Linked DNA regions of Homo sapiens: regions 1, 3, 4 and 5 are each linked to region 2. Evidence: promoter capture Hi-C in 16 types of primary human blood cells and fetal thymus (Javierre and others, 2016). All regions are on one chromosome and are shown on one strand. The core of a region is centred on a gene start or on the middle of the fragment in contact, and the rest is flanking DNA. Distances in the headings are between cores, read along the strand shown. Region 1 has its middle 46 kb from the start of LINC02031. Region 2 holds the start of SOX2 (SRY-box transcription factor 2). Region 3 overlaps LINC02031 (long intergenic non-protein coding RNA 2031). Region 4 has its middle 250 kb from the start of LINC01994. Region 5 overlaps LINC02031 (long intergenic non-protein coding RNA 2031).

Region 1 (3,768 bases), core at 512-3,011, 980 kb before region 2:
TAGGGTGAAGTATCAATATAATACTTTTTCATTAGCGAGAAGGAGCTTTATTTCTTTGTGCAAAGGAGCACTTCAAGTCAAGCTAGCCAGTCGCACTTGGGCGAGTCCTGCTTTCACAGAAACTGGGGGTAGAAGAGGTACTTTCAGTTGTACTCAGTTCGGGCTAAGCAGTTAGCAATCTCCTGGTCACACTTGCACAAGAGCTTTTGGCATTTGTTCTCTGCTGGTCCAGTCAATGGCATCCCGGTGCTGGCCATGGCCTCCCAGGCCACAGTAGCAACTGTATTTCATATAGGTAAGTGGGGTTCAGGAGTCAATACAACCCACAGTTCCTGCCAGTTCCAGGATCCCACGTCGGTGCACGTGTGACCTCTTGGAGGCCTGGCGGGACCCAGGGCCAGATCCCAGCAGCAGCAGCAGCAGTGACAGCAGTGGCAGTAGTATTAATAACATGACTGGCAGGCACAGAGGTAGCAGCCCAGTCCGACAGTGGGAGGTGTGGAACGGTGTAGCCGGGCCAGTGTAGTCACCAAGCCTGGCCGAGCTAGTCACCATATCGGTATAATTTATTTGGAATTCTTTTTTTGTACTGAATATTTGTTTCTTTTCCTGTGTTTATTAACTTACTTAATCATATATTTATATCAGATCTGAGCTCATGGATATGCGTTTTATACTCTGGGCTCTAATCCCAAACTATTTATTTCATTGCTTAAATCCTTCTAGCTTTGGCCATTGGGAGCTTTTTGGTCCTGAGCCCCTTTGAGATACTCTCATTAATTTGTGTGTGTGTGTGTGTGTGTGTGTGTGTGTGTGTGTGAGAGAGGGAGAGAGAGAGAGAGAAGAAGAGAGACAGAGTAAGGGAGAGAGAATGCAGTTTCTTACTTGTAGCACTATAAGACACCCCAGGCTAATCTTGTGTATTTCCTGCCCCAGTCATAGTCACTCATTTCTGCAAGGAGCCCTGGTTCCTTTATTCTGGAGAATGATGTTGGGAACCAAGATCTGGGTGCTAGGTGTGTTCATTGCTATTGAGATGTAGTTTTTTTTTGCAGGCTTCTCACCTGACAGAGCAATGAAATATATGTATGTATACTACCTTGTATATATACACATATTTATAAATATTTCTATGTGTAACCATCTGTTTCCATATTGTTAATTATTAAAGAAGTTTTTACTGATGTTTCTAGTTTGAATCCATTACCACATACATCATTCTACCCCCCTCCTTTTCCTTATCTATAAATTCCTACTTCAACAGTGAGAAAACTGCCTCCTATCATCTGCTATCCATTTACTTAATTGTTCAATTCCTGTATACATGTATAGCAGTATCAGGCAGTACTAGAATTCTTAATCCATACCTCTATGGGGAAAAACTTTATCAACTAGAGTACTTCTGTATTTCCTTTTGCCTTGAGTCTTACAGATGCCATCAATGGCAAAGTGTGTTTTGAAGAGTTTTTAATTTTAATAAAGTCTGACTTGCTAATTTTTTTCATGGATTGTGCTTTTAGTGTTGTATCTAAAAACACACCACTAAACCCAAAGTCACCTCTATTTTATCCTATGTTATCTTCTAGAAGTTTTACAGTTTAGTGTTTTAATGTTTAGGTTTATGATCTGCTTAGAGTCAAATTTTGTGAAAGGTGTAAGATCTGTGTCTAGGATTTTTTTTTTTTTCATATCCCCAGTTGTTCCAGCACCATTTGTTGAAAAGACTGTCCTTTCTCCACTGAATTGCCTCTGCTCATTTTTCAAAGTTCTTGCCTTTTATGTTGATTAAGTATTTTTTATTATTGTAGTCCCCTCTTCCTTGGTTAAGTAATTATATATTATTTTATGACTTTTTAGTGGTTGCCATAGAGATAACAACATGTTACTCAATTTATTAAACATCCATGTAAATTGTCACTTTTGTTATTTCCCAGGCCAGTGGTTCTCAAACTTGAACATGCATCAGAATTGCCTTAAGGGTTTGTTAAAGCACAGATTGCTGGGTTCTGTCATCAGGGTTTCTGATTCAGCAGGCATGGGTTGAGGCATGAGAATTTGCATTTCCAACAATTTCCTAAGTGACACTGGTGATGCAAACGCAGACCTGGAGACTACACTTTGAGAACGGCTGTGTTAATCACAAACACTGAAAAACATTTTCATTCTACTTGTTCTGTTGACTTCTGTGCTATTACTGTCATATCTATATCTCTATCCCCACAAAGCAATATTCTTATTGTTTTATATTGTAAATATTCATTTATATTTACTTCTATATTATTTTCTCTTTTGGTTTTCATTTCTTCTTGCACCTTTGAGCTTCCATCTGGGACTACCGACCATTTACTTCTGCCTGAAGAATGCCCTTTAGCATTTCCCGTAATGCAGGCCTGTTAGTGACAAATTCACCCATACTTTGTAGGTCTGAAACTATCTTTCTTTTGCTTTTACCTTGGAAGGGTATTCTTGGTGAATATGAAACGCTACATTATTGTTATTTTCTTTTAGCACATGTCTTCTGACATTCATGGTTTCTGTTGAGAAGATGGCTGCTTATTTTACTGTTGCTTCTTTGAAGATAGTATCTCTTTTGACTGCTTTAAAAATTTGCTTCTTGTTTTTGGTTTTCAGCTGTTTTATGCTGATGTGCTAGGTTATAGTTTTCTTTGTAGTTATTCTGATTAAAACTTCTCGAATGTGTGGCTTGAAGTCGTCCATCAAATCTGTGTTATTATTTTTTTCCTTTTAGATGGTATTGTTGCCAGAGAATATGGTATTTATGATACTTATCCTTTGAGATGTGTTCAGACTTGCTGTGTGGCTGCGTTTAAGTGGTTGATTTTTGAAAACATTGCTTCTGTGTTGAGAAGAATGTGTATTCTCTAGTTGTTTAGGGGCACAATTCTAAATATGTTAATTATATTAATACCAATCCCTTTTTATGTATATTGTTTAAATATTGTTTATCTATATTAATTTCCTATCTTCTAAGCTGTCAATAATTACTAGAGGTGTGTTAAAATATCCTATAATGATTTTGAGGCAATTTTCTTATATATATATGGGTTTAAAATGTCTATAATCACATAGTGAATTGAAAACTATAATCAGTATATAGTACATTTCTCTATTTCCAGTAATGCTCTTTGTCTTACATTCTTTTTGAGACAGGATCTCACTGTGTCACCCAGGCTGGAGTGGACTGGCGCTATCTCGGCTTGCTGCAGTCTCTGCCTCCCAGGATCAAGTGATCCTCCCACCTCAGGCTCCCGAGTAGCTGGGACTACAGGTATTCGTCACTACACCTGGCTAATTTTTGTGTTTTTTGTGTGTTTTATCTAATATTAATGTAGTGGCCTCTGCATTATTTTGATATTTGTCTAGTATTTCGTCTTCGTATTTTTAACCTTCCCACATTTAAAAAGTATGAATATGATAAACAGTATAGCTATGTTTTCTTTTTTTTAAAACTGGTATTTAATTCTTTTACATTTGGTGTGATTATTGGTATATTGGGACTTGTTTCTATCAATGTAAAATTTCCCCTATTTGTTTCACTCTTGTTTCTTGTCTTGTCTTTAAAAAATTAATTTAGCTTTTTTGGTTAAATTTTTTTCTTAACCAAATGTTTCCCCTTTACTACTTAAACATAATACACTATTTTCTTTTAGTACTATTGAAATCTTATCAAACATGTTAAATTTAAGTAAGATTAAAGTGAATCAATAAGTTAAATGATCTGAAAAATAAAACGAATCTTATAACACT
Region 2 (3,498 bases), core at 958-3,457:
AAAAGCTATTATAAATTACCAACGGTGTCAACCTGCATGGCCATTTTTGCTTTTAACAGTAAGTTATAAAATTTAGTACAGTCTAAAACTTTTGCCCTTTTTAAACAAGACCACAGAGATGGTTCGCCAGTACTTATTCTAATTTTTTCCTTTTGTACAATTTTTAAACAATTAAAATGTCCAAATTTGAATAATTTTCTTCTTTTCACGTTTGCAACTGTCCTAAATTTCAGCTGCAGAATCAAAATTCAGCAAGAAGCCTCTCCTTGAAAAATATTGGCAAATTCTCAGCTTATAAACAATGGACATTTTGATTGCCATGTTTATCTCGATAAATACTGTACAAAAGTTGCTTGCAAATATTAAAACATTTTTTTCGTCGCTTGGAGACTAGCTCTAAATATTATTGGTAAAGACTTTTGCAAACTTCCTGCAAAGCTCCTACCGTACCACTAGAACTTTTAAAAAGTTTTTCGTAGCTTTCTTTCCTCCAGATCTATACAAGGTCCATTCCCCCGCCCTCCCCACCCTCCCCAGGTTTTCTCTGTACAAAAATAGTCCCCCAAAAAGAAGTCCAGGATCTCTCTCATAAAAGTTTTCTTGTCGGCATCGCGGTTTTTGCGTGAGTGTGGATGGGATTGGTGTTCTCTTTTGCAGCTGTCATTTGCTGTGGGTGATGGGATTTTTTTTTTTCCTTTTTCTTTTTGAGCGTACCGGGTTTTCTCCATGCTGTTTCTTACTCTCCTCTTTTGCACCCCTCCCATTTCCCTCGTTTTTCTTTGAAAATTTCTCCCCCCTCCAGTTCGCTGTCCGGCCCTCACATGTGTGAGAGGGGCAGTGTGCCGTTAATGGCCGTGCCGGGCACCGGGCCGCTCTGGTAGTGCTGGGACATGTGAAGTCTGCTGGGGGCGGCGGGTTCCGGCACCTCGGCGCCGGGGAGATACATGCTGATCATGTCCCGGAGGTCCCCGGCCTGGCAGGGCGCCCTGGAGTGGGAGGAAGAGGTAACCACAGGGGGGCTGGAGCTGGCCTCGGACTTGACCACCGAACCCATGGAGCCAAGAGCCATGCCAGGGGTGCCCTGCTGCGAGTAGGACATGCTGTAGGTGGGCGAGCCGTTCATGTAGGTCTGCGAGCTGGTCATGGAGTTGTACTGCAGGGCGCTCACGTCGTAGCGGTGCATGGGCTGCATCTGCGCTGCGCCGTGCGCATTGAGGCCCGGGTGCTGCGGGTAGCCCAGCTGGTCCTGCATCATGCTGTAGCTGCCGTTGCTCCAGCCGTTCATGTGCGCGTAACTGTCCATGCGCTGGTTCACGCCCGCGCCCAGGCCGGCGCCCACCCCGACCCCGCTCGCCATGCTATTGCCGCCGGGGGCCAGCAGCCCGCCGGGCAGCGTGTACTTATCCTTCTTCATGAGCGTCTTGGTTTTCCGCCGGGGCCGGTATTTATAATCCGGGTGCTCCTTCATGTGCAGCGCTCGCAGCCGCTTAGCCTCGTCGATGAACGGCCGCTTCTCCGTCTCCGACAAAAGTTTCCACTCGGCGCCCAGGCGCTTGCTGATCTCCGAGTTGTGCATCTTGGGGTTCTCCTGGGCCATCTTGCGCCGCTGCCCGCGGGACCACACCATGAAGGCATTCATGGGCCGCTTGACGCGGTCCGGGCTGTTTTTCTGGTTGCCGCCGGCCGCCGCCGCGGTGGAGTTGCCGCCGCCGCCCCCCGAAGTTTGCTGCGGGCCCGGCGGCTTCAGCTCCGTCTCCATCATGTTGTACATGCGGGCGCTGTGCGCGGGCCCGGCCCGCCGGCGGCCGCCGACCCTCGGCCCGGCCGGGACTTTGGGGGGCCCGCGGGCGGGGGGAGAGGAGGAGGGGAGGCGGGCGGGGGTGTCGGGAGCGCAGGGCTCCGCGAGGAAAATCAGGCGAAGAATAATTTGGGGGAAAAAAAGAGAGAGGCAAACTGGAATCAGGATCAAAAAAAGCGCTTCCCTCCTCCTCTGGCCGATCCTGCCGCCGCCGATGATTGTTATTATTATTTTTTGGAAAGGCTTAAGCCTGGGGCTCAAACTTCTCTCCCTTTCTTTCTCTCTCCTCTTCTTTCTCTCAGTCCTAGTCTTAAAGAGGCAGCAAACTACTTTCCCCCTTTTGCAAACACTCTCTTCTCTGCCTTGACAACTCCTGATACTTTTTTGAACAAGTTAATAGACAACCATCCATGTGACGGGGGCTGTCAGGGAATAAATGGGTTTCTAGCGACCAATCAGCGCGCGGCGGCTCCTCCACTCGAGCCCAGCCTCGCTGCCGGGTTTTGCATGAAAGGGGGCGGGGCCTCCCGCGCCGCCGGCCGCGCGGGGGAGGCCGGGGGAGGAGGGGGCAGGCGAGGAGGGGGAGGAGGCTCCCAGAGCCAGCCTGCCAGCCACTGAGAAACCTTTGTATCCCCTCTCGCAGCAACAGGTCACACCACACGCCTTTTCGAAGGAAGTGGGTAAACAGCACTAAGACTACGTGGGTTTTTTTTTCTTTAAACTTAATATTGATTTACTTTTTGGTGCAGGGTACTTAAATGAGGATGGGACGCGGGAAGCAGCTAAGGTGCGGGGGTGGGGCAGGGCACAGTGGGTGGCTCAGGGCGGCTGTCCAACTCGTATTTCTGGAAACAGCCAGTGCAGGAGTTGGTGTGTCATTGTTCTCCCGCTCATCCACAGCACTCCCCCCCAACTCCAGCCCCTCTGGTGCCGCTCCCGTACTGCGCTCTTCCGCTCTCCTCTCTTACCTTACAGGTGCCAACACTCTCTCACGCCCTTCTCACAGTCCCGACTAGAAGTTAGGAGACCCAAACCTCTGTCCTCAAAACCTTCCTTGCTTCCACGTAACTTGCTCTGTTCTTAAAAATAAATCCTGCTCGGACCATAAGGCAGACTCTAGAGCTGAGAACCAGCAGGCCTTGGTAAGCTGCCATCTCCCTGTCCAACTCAGCTCTTTGGCCCAGGAAACTGCAGCTCTTCCTCTTAGCCCCAGCCACATCTCCCACTAGACTGTCTTCATTCAACCGTAGCAAAGGGGATGCTTCTACTGTCTGCCCCCACTCCCCATTCCCATCCCATGCCTCCCCGTAAGAAGGGTTTCGGTCGTGCGGCTTTCAAATGGGGGCTGGGGAAAGACACAGACGGAAGGGCGCTCAAAAGTGCAGGCGATGGGGGAGGGTGATTTCAACTTCCTGGCATCCCACGGCACTGTATGGAGGTGGCTTTTGGGCCGCAGTCACAAACTCCCTCCCACGCAGAGTTCCCAGGACTCCAGCAGAACCAGCCCTGGCATTTTCCCCGTAGATTTCCATTGTGGTGGCCGCAAAGCCCAGGCCGCGCAAGGCTGGGGCTGCGCCGCAAAGGGGCTCAAGGCCTGGGAGGCGGGGTCGATGCTCTCCAGGCACAGGTGCAGGCAGCGCACACTGGGAGAAGGCGGCCGGGACTGGGGAAGGGGGAGCCCAGCAAGGCCCGGGTTAGAG
Region 3 (3,814 bases), core at 893-3,392, 930 kb before region 2:
AAATGAACCAAAGCCACCTGAAGAGACATGGTTTGCAGCAAGAACTGCTCTGATTTTATTTTTATTCATTCATTTAACAGATTAAACTCTTACCATGTGCCAGGAACTGCTAAGTACTGAGGTTATAGCAGTGATCAAAACAGAAAAAATCTTGGGGGTGTAGCTCAGGGGTAGACCATTTGACTGCAAAACAGACAAAATCCCTCTCCTCATGGAGAAAAGCAACAACAACAACAACAAAACCCACAAAAAATCCAAAAAAGCAAACCCAAATGAGTCTATAATATAATGTCACGTAATTTGAAGTATGAAGAAAAATAAAGCAAGGTAAAGGGCTGGGCAGTGATGGGGATGAGGGTCAGAGTGTTATTGAAGTGTAGTCATGGAAAACCTCTTTGAATACAGCAAAGCAAGAGTTTGTTTCCAAGTGACCCACTGAGCTGCGTACACATTTTTATTTCAAATAAAATATATTTGTATTATTTGTCATTCATACTGTCCATCCATACCACACTAACTTCTGTGTCAGGTGGTCTAATAGAAGTATACCTGTTTTGTTCTTAAAAAAGAAAAATTGATATTTGAGTAGAGGTTTGAGAAAAATGGGACCATGTAGGTTTCTGGGAATAGCAAACGCAAAGGCCCTGAACTAAGAATGTGCTTGAAGCTTTTCAAGAACAGCAAGGTGAGGAAGAGGCAAGGATGCTGGAGAGGGAAGAGTGGCCAGGCCCATCAGTTCACCTGGGACATTCTAGACTTTGGTAAGAACTTTGGAACTGAGATTGTCAGAGATGTGTGGAGTCTTTTGGGATCTTTTTTTTTTTTTTTTAAAAAAACTAAATATGAATAAATCTTATTCTGGAAGTTATTTTGTACTGAAATGATAACACTGAAAGTTTTTTGTTGTTTATGAAAATGGGCTATCAAAAGCTAAAGTTGATTACATAAATATAAAGAGAATTACATTTCTGCATGAATTTTAAAAATGAAACTTTTTATTTTGGAACAATTTAGATTTACAGAAAAGTTATAAAGATAGTCCGGAAAGTTGCTGTATATCCCTTATATAGTTTCCCCTGTTATTAAGATCATACATTACCGCGGTTCATTTGTTAAAACTAGAATATTGACATTGGCTTATTACTGTTAATAAACGTCAGGTTTTATTTGGATTTGCTAGTTTTTCCATCAGTGTCCTCTTTCTGTTCCAGGATTCAATATATGGTACCACATTGCACTTAGTTGCCATGCCTCCTCAGTCTTCTCTGGTCTTTGGCAGTCTTCTTGTTTTCATGACCTTGACTGTCTTGAGGAATAGCAGTCAGGTACCCCATAGAATCTTCCCAATCTGGGTTTGTCTTTTGTTTTTCTTATGATTGGACTAGGGCAATGAGTCATCAGAAAGAATACAGAAGTGAGTGCCCTTCTTATCACATCATATCAACAGGTACCTGCATCCATATGATGTCTCTAGTGAGGTTAACTTTCATCACTTGGTTGAGGTAGGTTTTCCAGATTTCTCCACCATGAAGTTACTATTTTCACCTTTTCCTACTCTATTCTTTGGAATCAAGCTCACTCTTAAGGAAAGGATGGTGAGACTTAAGCTACTTCGGAGTGTTTTAAGGGGAAGAGTAACATAATCCTATTTATGCTCTTAAAAGGGAAGGGCCACTCTATGTTGAGAGCAGACTATAGGGATAAGAGCAGAAGCAGGGAGACTGGGCAATGTCCAGGTGAGACATGGTGGCTTGGATTGGGGTGACAGTCATGGAAATGATGAGAAGTGGCTGAGATTTGCGTATGCTTGGGAGATAGAGCCTATGGGTTTTATATTGCTGTTCCACCTTCACTACCATGAGGGCAATGGCCATTAGTAATGATGGACATTATCTTGTTTTACTAATCACAGTGTCACTTTCTGGAAGGACAGTGCTCTTCTTCTATTGTTGTTGGATGTTATAAAGATTGTTGATTGATTTGTTTGCATTTTCAAAGTAAGCCTTACTCATTACTGGAGCCAAGTTACAAATGTCTCTGATTTTAGAGATAAGTATTAGCATAAAAATTTAGATAATCCAGCTTAGGGAAGCCAATTTCTTCAGAACCTCCTATGGACGAGGCCCCTTTTTAGATGTTTTATGTTTGTTGTGAGTGTATTTATATTTTTGTAAGTATATTTATATTTTTGTAAGTATATTTATATTTCCTGTGAATTTCAAAGCCCACAAAAAAGCAAGAATGTAGCTCTCCCTGTTTTTCTGTAAGTGAACTTAAATTTTATCATAAACCAACTTTTTTATGATATAAAAAATTTAGTCCCATTATATCTATGTCAACTCTGTTCCTTTGACGATCACATTAGTCATTTCATATTTACACCTATGTAACTGTGGGCTTTCCCTCTTCTTCCTTTTCTCCTTCCTGATACTGATCTTGAAAACTGCAGAGATTTGTGAATATGCCACTTTGGATTTGGAGGAGAGCACGGCGTGCCCTTCTCAATTTTGACTGGTTGAGATCTCATTCTATCTCCCATGAGATGTAGCTGGTCGGTTTGGTCTTTGGGCATGTCCTCCACAGCAGCAATCTCCTAAGAAATAATTGCATTCTTTTTAGCTATCCCAAGGGATGATGCATGCAGTATGTATCCTTCCTGCAGCACCCCCTTATTCTGGCTTGACACTCTACAAGTCTACCAGCAGACCCTCTCAGAACAAGTGAGATTCAAGTCCTCTTTCTTTAGGGAGTCTGGAACTTACACAGATGTTCTATCTCCCTCCTCCCGCACCAGCTCTTCTTAATGGGAGTTGGCCCCAAAGGGCAGGAGCTGGGCTTCCAAACCAGCATGTAACTTATTGGTTTCACTCTCTCAGCTTGTAGAAGGTTCTTGTTCCTAAAGAGCTTGGAGGCAGAGGTGGGAAATCCTCTGCAGAAAGAAGGAATCACTTAGTTTTTCCAAATCTATGGTTTATTAAAAACTGGGCCTTTGGGCCGGGTGCGGTGGCTCATGCCTGTAATCCCAGCACTTTGGGAGGCTGAGGTGGGTGGATCATGAGGTCAGGAGATTGAGACCATCCTGGCTAACACGGTGAAACCCTGTCTCTACTAAAAATACAAAAAAAAAAAAAAAAAAAAATAGCTGGGCGTGGCGGCAGGCACCTATAGTCCCAGCTACTCGGGAGGCTGAGGCAGGAGAATGGTGTGAACCCGGGAGGCAGGGCTTGCAGAAAGCCGAGATCGCGCCACTGCACTCCAGAGCCTGGGCAATAGAGTGAGACTCCGACTCAAAAAAAAAAAAAAAAAAAAAAAAAAACAACCCCAAAACTGGGCCTTTGGAAACAAGAGAAAACCAAGAATTATTTTGTTTCTCACTGTATAAAGCAGTGAGAATTGGAGGCTGCAGTAGAGGTTGGGGTATAGGAGCTTTTGAAGAGTTGGGAAGAAGAGTGCAGGAGTGGAAAACAGACTAGCAGAGCAATGCATGAGCTAACACTCATAACACCAACAATCACGTGACTGTTTCACATACCTTTATATTAGTTCTGTTGTACCTTCTTATCATCATTTGGTAAATGAGAAAGTTAAGAGAAGTTACAAAAAATTATCCAAGCTTATATAGAGAGCATGCATTGGTGGAGCCAGGAATCAAAACCAGAGCTGTTCTAACATCAAAGCCTCTGTTTTGTCCACTACAGCTCATAATCCAACTCATCTACTCACATTTTCCTTGCGCGTGCATGACTCAAAGTCTTCCAGGGAGAGAAATGACTGGCCTGGGCGGTGGTTAAGCAGAATGGAGGGCACCTCCTTG
Region 4 (3,629 bases), core at 13-2,512, 520 kb before region 2:
GTCGCATCATGTGTTGTATGATCCTGCAATGAAGCAGCTGCAAGTTAGAAAACACAGAAGCAACCTGAATTTAGCTCTTTGGTATTTTATCTGGTGTGTGTGTGTGTGTGTGTGTGTGTGTGTGTGTGTGTGTGTGTGTGTTAAACTGCAGAGCTAGTCTTCTAGTCTCCTGGGTCATGCAAATTTTGTTAAATGATAGAATGGCATTCTATCTGGAATTGAAGGCAAGAGACCTGAGTTCTAGGCCTGCTCAGTCACCAATTTGTTATTAGGGTGATGAGAAAGACATAGTTCCTTTTTAAAACTTCAATTTTCTCATATGTACAAGAAAGAGGCTGGACTGCAGTCTCAGAGGTTGCTTTCAGCTTGACTATTTTAGGATTCAGAGTACAGAAGGCAAAGTTGTGTTGTAGATTAGTCCAACAGGTTTTGGGGTAAAAGAGATCTGGGTTTAAATCTCAGCTTAACAACTGACTCTGTAGCACTGAGCAAGTGATGATCTCTCTAAGCCTTGTTTTCACCATCTGTAGAGTGGGGTCAATAATAGTACTCTCTCATAGAGACTGTTGTGAAGTATAATGAGATAATGCATGCCAGTGCTTAGAACAGTGCTTTGTGCATAGTAAGCCCTCAATAAATGGGAACTGGTATCATTATAACAACAGATTACTTATTACAATTGCATTTAGACTCAATATCATTATTGAACAGTCCTGTGGGTTCTCAACTCCTAAACATTTGCTATAAGCAATGTCTTCAAATTAAGGATATTTTATCACTTACATGGGCCACAAATTATTTTTCCAGTCTATTAGTGTCAAATGACTTATTAATAACCCTCTCCAAAAGCCAGAGACCCACTTGTCCATCTCATTATTGTTCTTTCAAAAGACTAATTGTGTCAGTTATGTTAAATGATAATAGTAATAATAATAAACACTCATTGAGGTAGAAGGAAGTCTTGTAGGCAGACAAAAAGGAAGTAAAATTACCAAAACCTTGAAAAAATTTTCTCGGTATCCTGCTTGACTAAACCCAGTCTGAGGTTTTATCTGCCTCTAGGAGCTGTGATTTTTTAATGGTGCCTTTTATTTATTTATATATATATTTATTTATTTATTTTTAGTGTGCTATGAAAATGTTTGTTCTAGTTTTGTTTTCCATGAACTTTTTTAAATTTTACTTTAAGTATACCTATGTATGGTGCCATTTTTAACAGCAGTCTGCAAAACTGCAACAGCAGTTTGCATGTTGCGTGTCTATTTGGACTAGAGAATTTTCCCCCAGTCCTGTTTGCATTTTGGTTTTAACAGGAGGGAAAAAATAAAGTCTGAGAAGGAATGATTATCCTGAATTGCATTTTAGGAGAATTTTGTCTATGTGGGAATCAAATTATTTGGTCTTATTGGTGAATCAAATAAGTATATGCTTGTATATAACCAATCTTCATATACAAGTAATCCAGGACTTGGATGTTTCTGGAAGACTTAACAAAACATGCTGTATTTGCTGGCCATGAAAAAACTTTGAACATTGAACAACAAATAGGGTGTTTCTTAAAACACTATTGTATCCTTGTATTTTTATATTTTTATCCTGCTCACACTCTGAAAAAAGAGTTTTAGAGAAGCATCAACATAAAAACTCCACGGTGGGAAAAAAATAGACTGTCACACACAGTGAGTGGTGAGTGGACTTCCATTTACCTGGTGCAGCAGCCGAAAACACAGGCTGGCCACTCTATCAGCACTTTAAGCAAGGTCAGGAATCATCCCATGTTTTAAACAAGTGACTTATTCAAACTGAAAAATTTTCCAGTTACAGTAGTTTGTTGAACTGTCTTGAACGAAAATGCTTTTCAGAGCTTTTCCACCCAACTGAGGCTTTTATTTTTAGGTATCGGTTGGCAAGTTAATCAGAGTTGTGTAAGGTCTCAATTCAAACAATTTTGGAAAGTTAATACATCTGAGTCTCAGTTTCTTTATCTGCATAATGGGAAGGAAAATAATGGTATCTAGCTCATGAGGTTGTTGTGGTGTGATAGTTTATGTAATATATTTGCAGTATCTGCAATATATGCAGTGCCTGTCACAGAGCAGGTCTTCAGTAAATGGTATTTCTCATCCCCATTTTTACAGCAGGGTATCAAAAAGGGTTTAGACATTATTGTGTATTACCACAACTTTGATCAGATCTAAGCCATGCCCACCAATATTACGCGTAGTTGGCCTTAATAGAAAAATCATAACAAAACCCTGAGAAGCATATGATTATCTCAGAAAGCACCAGAATGCTTTTCTCAGTGTAGGAATGCGACAAATACAAGGGGTTTCCTTGGAGGAGCAAATACAACTATTTCCTTGCATAGAACCAGCCTCAACATTTAATAGCCAGCATACAGCTACTTTCAAAAGAAAGCCCTACTGTTCTGGACCTTTTGTTTCCTGGGTATGACTGAGAATCTCTGTGTATGACTGAGATCAACAGCCAGATATCTAGGAGCTACAGATCAATTACTATTTCCCTCTAACGTGGCTGTGTGCAACTTAGCAAAATGCTGGTATGTTTGTGTGGTCCTCTACCTAAGTAAAGCTTAATGAATAAGAGAACCAAATAGAAGTGAGGAGGGGAAAGTTACACAGTTACCAGGTATACTTAAAAGAGAAAATGAATATGAAAATATTTATTCCCTCTGGCAGGCAACAACAGAATATTCATTAAATTTAAATTTCATTTGTGTTGTTTCTTTGTGCCTTTTCCCTCAACTTTAGTCATAAAATATTTTATGAAATTCAACTTGACTGTTAAATGTTTTCCGTAACAAAGATGTGTTGTGTTTTTTAGTGTATTGCTCTAACAATATAATTTATTTGGTAACAGTGGGGGACAATTATGAACATGAGATTTGGAAAAAATTAAAGTGTGTCTCCCAACAGAACATTTTGTTGCTGAATGTTCTATTAACTAATTATTACAAATGAGTGTCCTTCTAGACATATTTGTACAAAAGTCTTAACGTATTACTCATCTAGTATTGTGTAATGCAAAAAAAAAGTACTACTAATTGCTTTTTTCTTTCATTTGGTCATTTAAAACATGTTTTAAACCAGAAAAGAATAATCAAGTTACTTCAGCTCTGGTATCAAGCAAACTGTGAGTAAACGTTTCTGTTTTTGCCCTAAGAATTCATCACATGAAGATGATTAGTGACTATAGATCAATCTTTGCACCAGTAACTATAGAAGGAAGTTTATTTTATTTCTCCTAAGTCTGATAAGGACAAAGTAAACCCAATAATACCTGCTATAGGCTGGTAAGTTATCTCTCAAATAATCTCAACCCAGAGTCAAGATGTCACTAACAAAAAGATCCAAACCATGTAACCTGCACTGAATAGAATACAAATGAACAGAGATTTTATAAGTAAACATGTGGCATTTACACATCACTTTCCAAATTAATGTTGTTCCTGGAGACCACCTGAATGAAAGTAGTAGATCTCTTCTATCACTATTACACACTTTCAAACACTAACAATAACATTAAGAGTATCTGTTATAACTATAGCTAAATAATTGGCCATACTGAGTCTAAATTTAAATGCTAGATTAATTTGATACGTAACCGAT
Region 5 (3,983 bases), core at 655-3,154, 960 kb before region 2:
GGCATTGCTATTGCCTTCATATTTATGGAGACATTTTTGGTTTCAAGATGGTATACTGATTTCCAAAATGATTCCAGGTTTCTGTGGCCCTGTGGAATACAATGAATCCATAGAAACATGACACTTTTTAAAACATTGTATGTTAACATTTTAATATACAGTATGCTATGAGCTTTAACTTAAAATTCTAATTTTTATTTACTGTGATTAGTGTATTATGTTATTATGGAGTAATGTGGAGTTTACTGGGGGCATAAGCAGTAAAAGTGACCTATGGCTGACATACTGTATCTTTAATAAGCTACAGATGACATGAGTCTCTTCTCATAGGGGATATTGGCTTTCTGTATATAATTAATAACAAGAAAACTGTATCCTGACTTTAAGGTCTGCAGTAGCATCCTGGAACAAAAAGAGCCATAAATTAGCATCAATTATGTATTAAAGTTCCAATTAACCTGGCTGACACTGATATACTTTAACAAGGCACATTTAGATAAAAGAAAAAACTCTCTAATTACTTGGAACAGGACCTTATGACCCACTCTACTCTTTTATCCCAATTCCAACCCAATAAAGAATGAAGTGAGAGGGAGAAAATTCCACAAAGGGTGACGATACAACATCAGAAGATATTCCCTGGGATACTCTTTTACCATCAAAAACTCTCCATGATGAATATTTTATTGTATTTGGATTCCTAAAAACACACACAGACATTGAAGAAGAAGGGTATTTTAAAGTTGGAAATGGTGGCATCTTCTGAGATTTCCCACTAGAACTCATTGTGCACATTATAAATATTTAATGTGAATTCTCCTCTCCCACCCCCAGTCTGCCTGGACCTGCTTTGGACACATTCTCTAGAAAGGGAGCTTGGTGGTCACAATCCCTTCTGTATTGCTCACTCTCCTGGCCCCCCAAATCTTTGGACAGCCTTCCTGTTTTCTATTTGATTTAGGAAGAGCATTCTGGTCCCCGGTCCCCATCTGTTCTCCAGGTGGCTCTTTGGATGTTGTTGTTCTCTGTTTTCTGTCCACTGCCTGGGCATCTTGCCCACTTAGTTCTCTTGGTCCTCGTGCTCCTCCTGGTGTCGCCTGGTCAGTTAGCTTCATCTACAATTGCATATGTAACTTCTAGGCTGCACACGGCATGCACTGAAGTATTTCTTCATCTGAAACCACAGAAATAGCAGATGAAGATATTCATAGAATGGATGAGAGAAAAAAATGCAGAGATTGTGGGCGACAGGGAGGGAGTGGGAGCAAGGCAGATTCTACTAGCTGAGGAGGCAGAGGAGGGAAGGACATAAAGAATAGAATAAGAAGTGATTTGTCCTTATCACACTTTTATCTTTCTGTGGATCATTATCAGATATTACAGTCATTTGCTTTCCTACAGCAATCTCCCATTAGACACTCGCTCATTTCTTGACATAGTTTCCTGAGTCTGTGCTCTAACTCACCCTCCACAGGAGATGGAGGAGCCTTGTCTCATTTCTCTCACTTACCCTTTATTCAGCCAGGCTTCCCTGCTCCTTCTACCCCTCCCCCCACCAAATAGCACAAGGCATAAATACTTTCTTCAAGGCTCTTCCCTGCTTACATCCAAAATGAGATCGACTTTTTATAGACATGAATGAACTCAGCTTTTAGCCAAATATGAAATAAAAAATCAAGAAATGCATCTAAATAAAGCAGAATTTCTACTTATACATTTGAATAAATATATCCAAGTTCTTTCAGGGCCACAGATATAGTGAATAGATACTTAGATCTATCTAAGTACTAAGTAAGTATCTAGAACAGATGCTTATGAATAGAGATGAAAGTAGACGTACAGAATTTAAATTTGTCAACATATGTGGCCAGTGAAATGGTCCCAAGTATAACTCTGACCACGTGTTTTTTTGTTTTTTTTTTTGCAAAGGAAAGTGATAGTAAAGGCATAAGATGTAGGATGTTAGTGCAGCTTGGGGGCTGGGATCTAAGGTTAACTGGCTTGAGCTGAGGCTGACTGGGGAAGGGCAGCTGCCCTACAGCCACGTAAAGGCCCCAGGAACTTCCTTCAAAATCTGAATTTTTGCCCTTAGCCCATTTTGGTCTATGTGCTCAGGTTCAGGGCTTCCAATTGTTTTCTTATCGCCAATTTTGTGTTTTTCTGACCTTGATCTGACAACTTAACTCTATCCTACAGACTTTGTCTGCTTCATTGTAAATATTAGTTCAAGGATAAACAGGAAAGTCTTATAAGTCTCCAAACAGAAAGGACAAGTTACTTAAAAAAGTGAAAAGAGGTAGCGTGTCGTTCTTCTTTTCATTTGAAACATGGAAGCCGGAAGGCAATGACATATAGCCTCTACAGAAAACTGAGATGAAATCATCGTAATCTAATTTATCTGAGAGAAAAAGGCAAGAAACCAGTGAAACTTTGCTCCAAATAGTGGATTCAAGCCACCGTGATCTCTCACCTGGACATTCAGATCACAATGGTCCCATCACAACACTTCCGTGCTCAAGACCCCTTAGAGGTTCCCATCTCTCCTTTTCTCTCTCTCTCTGTCCTTTCCTTCCTTCCTTCCTTCCTTCCTTCCTTCCTTCCTTCCTTCCTTCCTTCCTTCCTTCCTTCCTTCCTTCCTTCTTTCCCTCCCTCCCTCCTTCCCTCCCTCCTTCCTTCCTTCCTACCTTCCTTCCTTCCTTTTTCCTTCCTCTTTCTTTCTTTCTTTCTTTTTTTTGAGACAGTTTCGCTCTTGTCACCCAGGCTGGAATGCAATGGCACAATCTCGGCTCACTACAACCTCCGCCTCCTGGACTCAAGTGATTCTCCTGCCTCAGCCTTCTGAGTAGCTGGGACTACAGGCGCACGCCACCACGCCCAGCTAATTTTTGTATTTTTAGTAGAGATGAGGTTTTACCATGTTGGGCAGGACAGTCTCGATGTCTAGACCTTGTGATCCACCTGCCTCAGCCTCCCAAAGTGCTGGGATTACAGGTATAAGCCACCGCACCTGGCATCTCCTTTCCTTTTGAACAGTCTCTGATCCTTCTCCCCTTGCTCACACCCGCCAGTCACAACACCTGCCTTGCATCTGGCCTAGAACACACTTTGCCCAACTCCACATGGCTCCCTCCCTTCCTCAGGTCTTTGTTCAGGTATTATCTTATCAAGGAGGCCTTCTCTAACCCCCTACATTTTAATAAAATGGCAACTCTCTTCTGGGTCATTCTCTATCTGCCTTATTCACTTTATTTCCTATAAGTTATAGCACTTATCTGCTTACCTGTGTTTGTTTATTGTATCTCTTTTTCCCACTAGAATATGGGCACTGTAAGAATGGAGGACTTGTTTGTTCACTGCTGTCACTGAGAACAGACCCTTAGTAAGCTCTCATCATTTTTTGAAAGAAGGGAAAGGGTCCTATACCCAGCTAAGATATTCTTTTGTCATGAAGAATTAAAAAAAAATACATTGATATGCAGGAACTGAGAGAGTAGTTTGCCCACAAACCCCATTTAGATTTGTGAGAAAACCTTGGAATCATCTAGAATGCTTGTTAAAAAAGAATAGATTCTCAGATTCCAACCCACATCAACAGAGTCAGAATTTCCAGGGGAAAGTCTTGGAATCTGAATATTTCAAACTATTATATTGAATATTTCCAAAGGCCTCTTTCAATTCCTTTCATAAGGCAAACTTGGAAAACTGTAAGTCTAATCTTACAACAAATGAATCTGAATAGACTTTCAGTAGCAATAATTGTAGTATATGTATGTGTCTGATTGCATATAATATATTGTCTATCAATCAAGCAAGAATTTAACAGGAAATTTGCAATATATAAATCTTATGTAAGGATTCTTGAAGTAAAACAGATTTTTGTTATCTGACCCATTATTTAAATTGCTCATTTTTCATTACAGTTTCAATTACAGTTAGTCCAGTTGTGTTTCAGTACTAAGTTCCTTTTATCAACAGACAGATGC

What was found. Contacts are between HindIII fragments. The CHiCAGO score rates a contact against its expected background, and 5 or more counts as called.
Region 1: a fragment that was not itself captured here is called in contact with the fragment with the promoter of SOX2 in region 2 in 8 of 17 cell types (monocytes, fetal thymus, M1 macrophages and 5 more); the score reaches 15.8 in monocytes.
Region 3: a fragment that was not itself captured here is called in contact with the fragment with the promoter of SOX2 in region 2 in 2 of 17 cell types (M0 macrophages and M2 macrophages); the score reaches 6.4 in M0 macrophages.
Region 4: a fragment that was not itself captured here is called in contact with the fragment with the promoter of SOX2 in region 2 in 1 of 17 cell types (megakaryocytes); the score reaches 6.7 in megakaryocytes.
Region 5: a contact is called between a fragment that was not itself captured here and the fragment with the promoter of SOX2 in region 2, in 8 of 17 cell types (total B cells, monocytes, M0 macrophages and 5 more). The highest score is 9.1, in total B cells.

Annotation. Positions count from the first base shown.
Region 1 is chr3:182,688,607-182,692,374 of GRCh38, reverse strand. No RefSeq gene overlaps it. Among named protein-coding and RNA genes, the nearest start is that of LINC02031, 46 kb to the right of the region's middle. The HindIII fragment of the contact is 9,217 bases long and covers 1-3,768 here.
Region 2 is chr3:181,710,634-181,714,131 of GRCh38, reverse strand. It overlaps SOX2 (SRY-box transcription factor 2), which reads right to left and starts at 2,207. Exons shown (of 1, transcript NM_003106.4): 1 at 1-2,207. The coding sequence starts at 1,771. The coding sequence ends at 818. The region is part of intron 6 of SOX2-OT (SOX2 overlapping transcript); the gene reads right to left. RefSeq lists enhancers at 366-1,217, 1,218-2,071, 2,072-2,924, 2,925-3,498, a silencer at 2,307-2,366 and a promoter at 1,946-2,979. The HindIII fragment of the contact is 18,528 bases long and covers 1-3,498 here.
Region 3 is chr3:182,644,934-182,648,747 of GRCh38, reverse strand. It overlaps LINC02031 (long intergenic non-protein coding RNA 2031), which reads right to left. Exons shown (of 5, transcript XR_427440.3): 3 at 3,724-3,814. Among named protein-coding and RNA genes, the nearest start is that of LINC02031, 2.7 kb to the right of the region's middle. The HindIII fragment of the contact is 2,946 bases long and covers 670-3,615 here.
Region 4 is chr3:182,234,496-182,238,124 of GRCh38, reverse strand. No RefSeq gene overlaps it. Among named protein-coding and RNA genes, the nearest start is that of LINC01994, 250 kb to the left of the region's middle. The HindIII fragment of the contact is 2,664 bases long and covers 1-2,594 here.
Region 5 is chr3:182,669,272-182,673,254 of GRCh38, reverse strand. LINC02031 (long intergenic non-protein coding RNA 2031) reads right to left here. Exons shown (of 5, transcript XR_427440.3): 5 at 1-1,174. Among named protein-coding and RNA genes, the nearest start is that of LINC02031, 27 kb to the right of the region's middle. The HindIII fragment of the contact is 5,620 bases long and covers 1-3,983 here.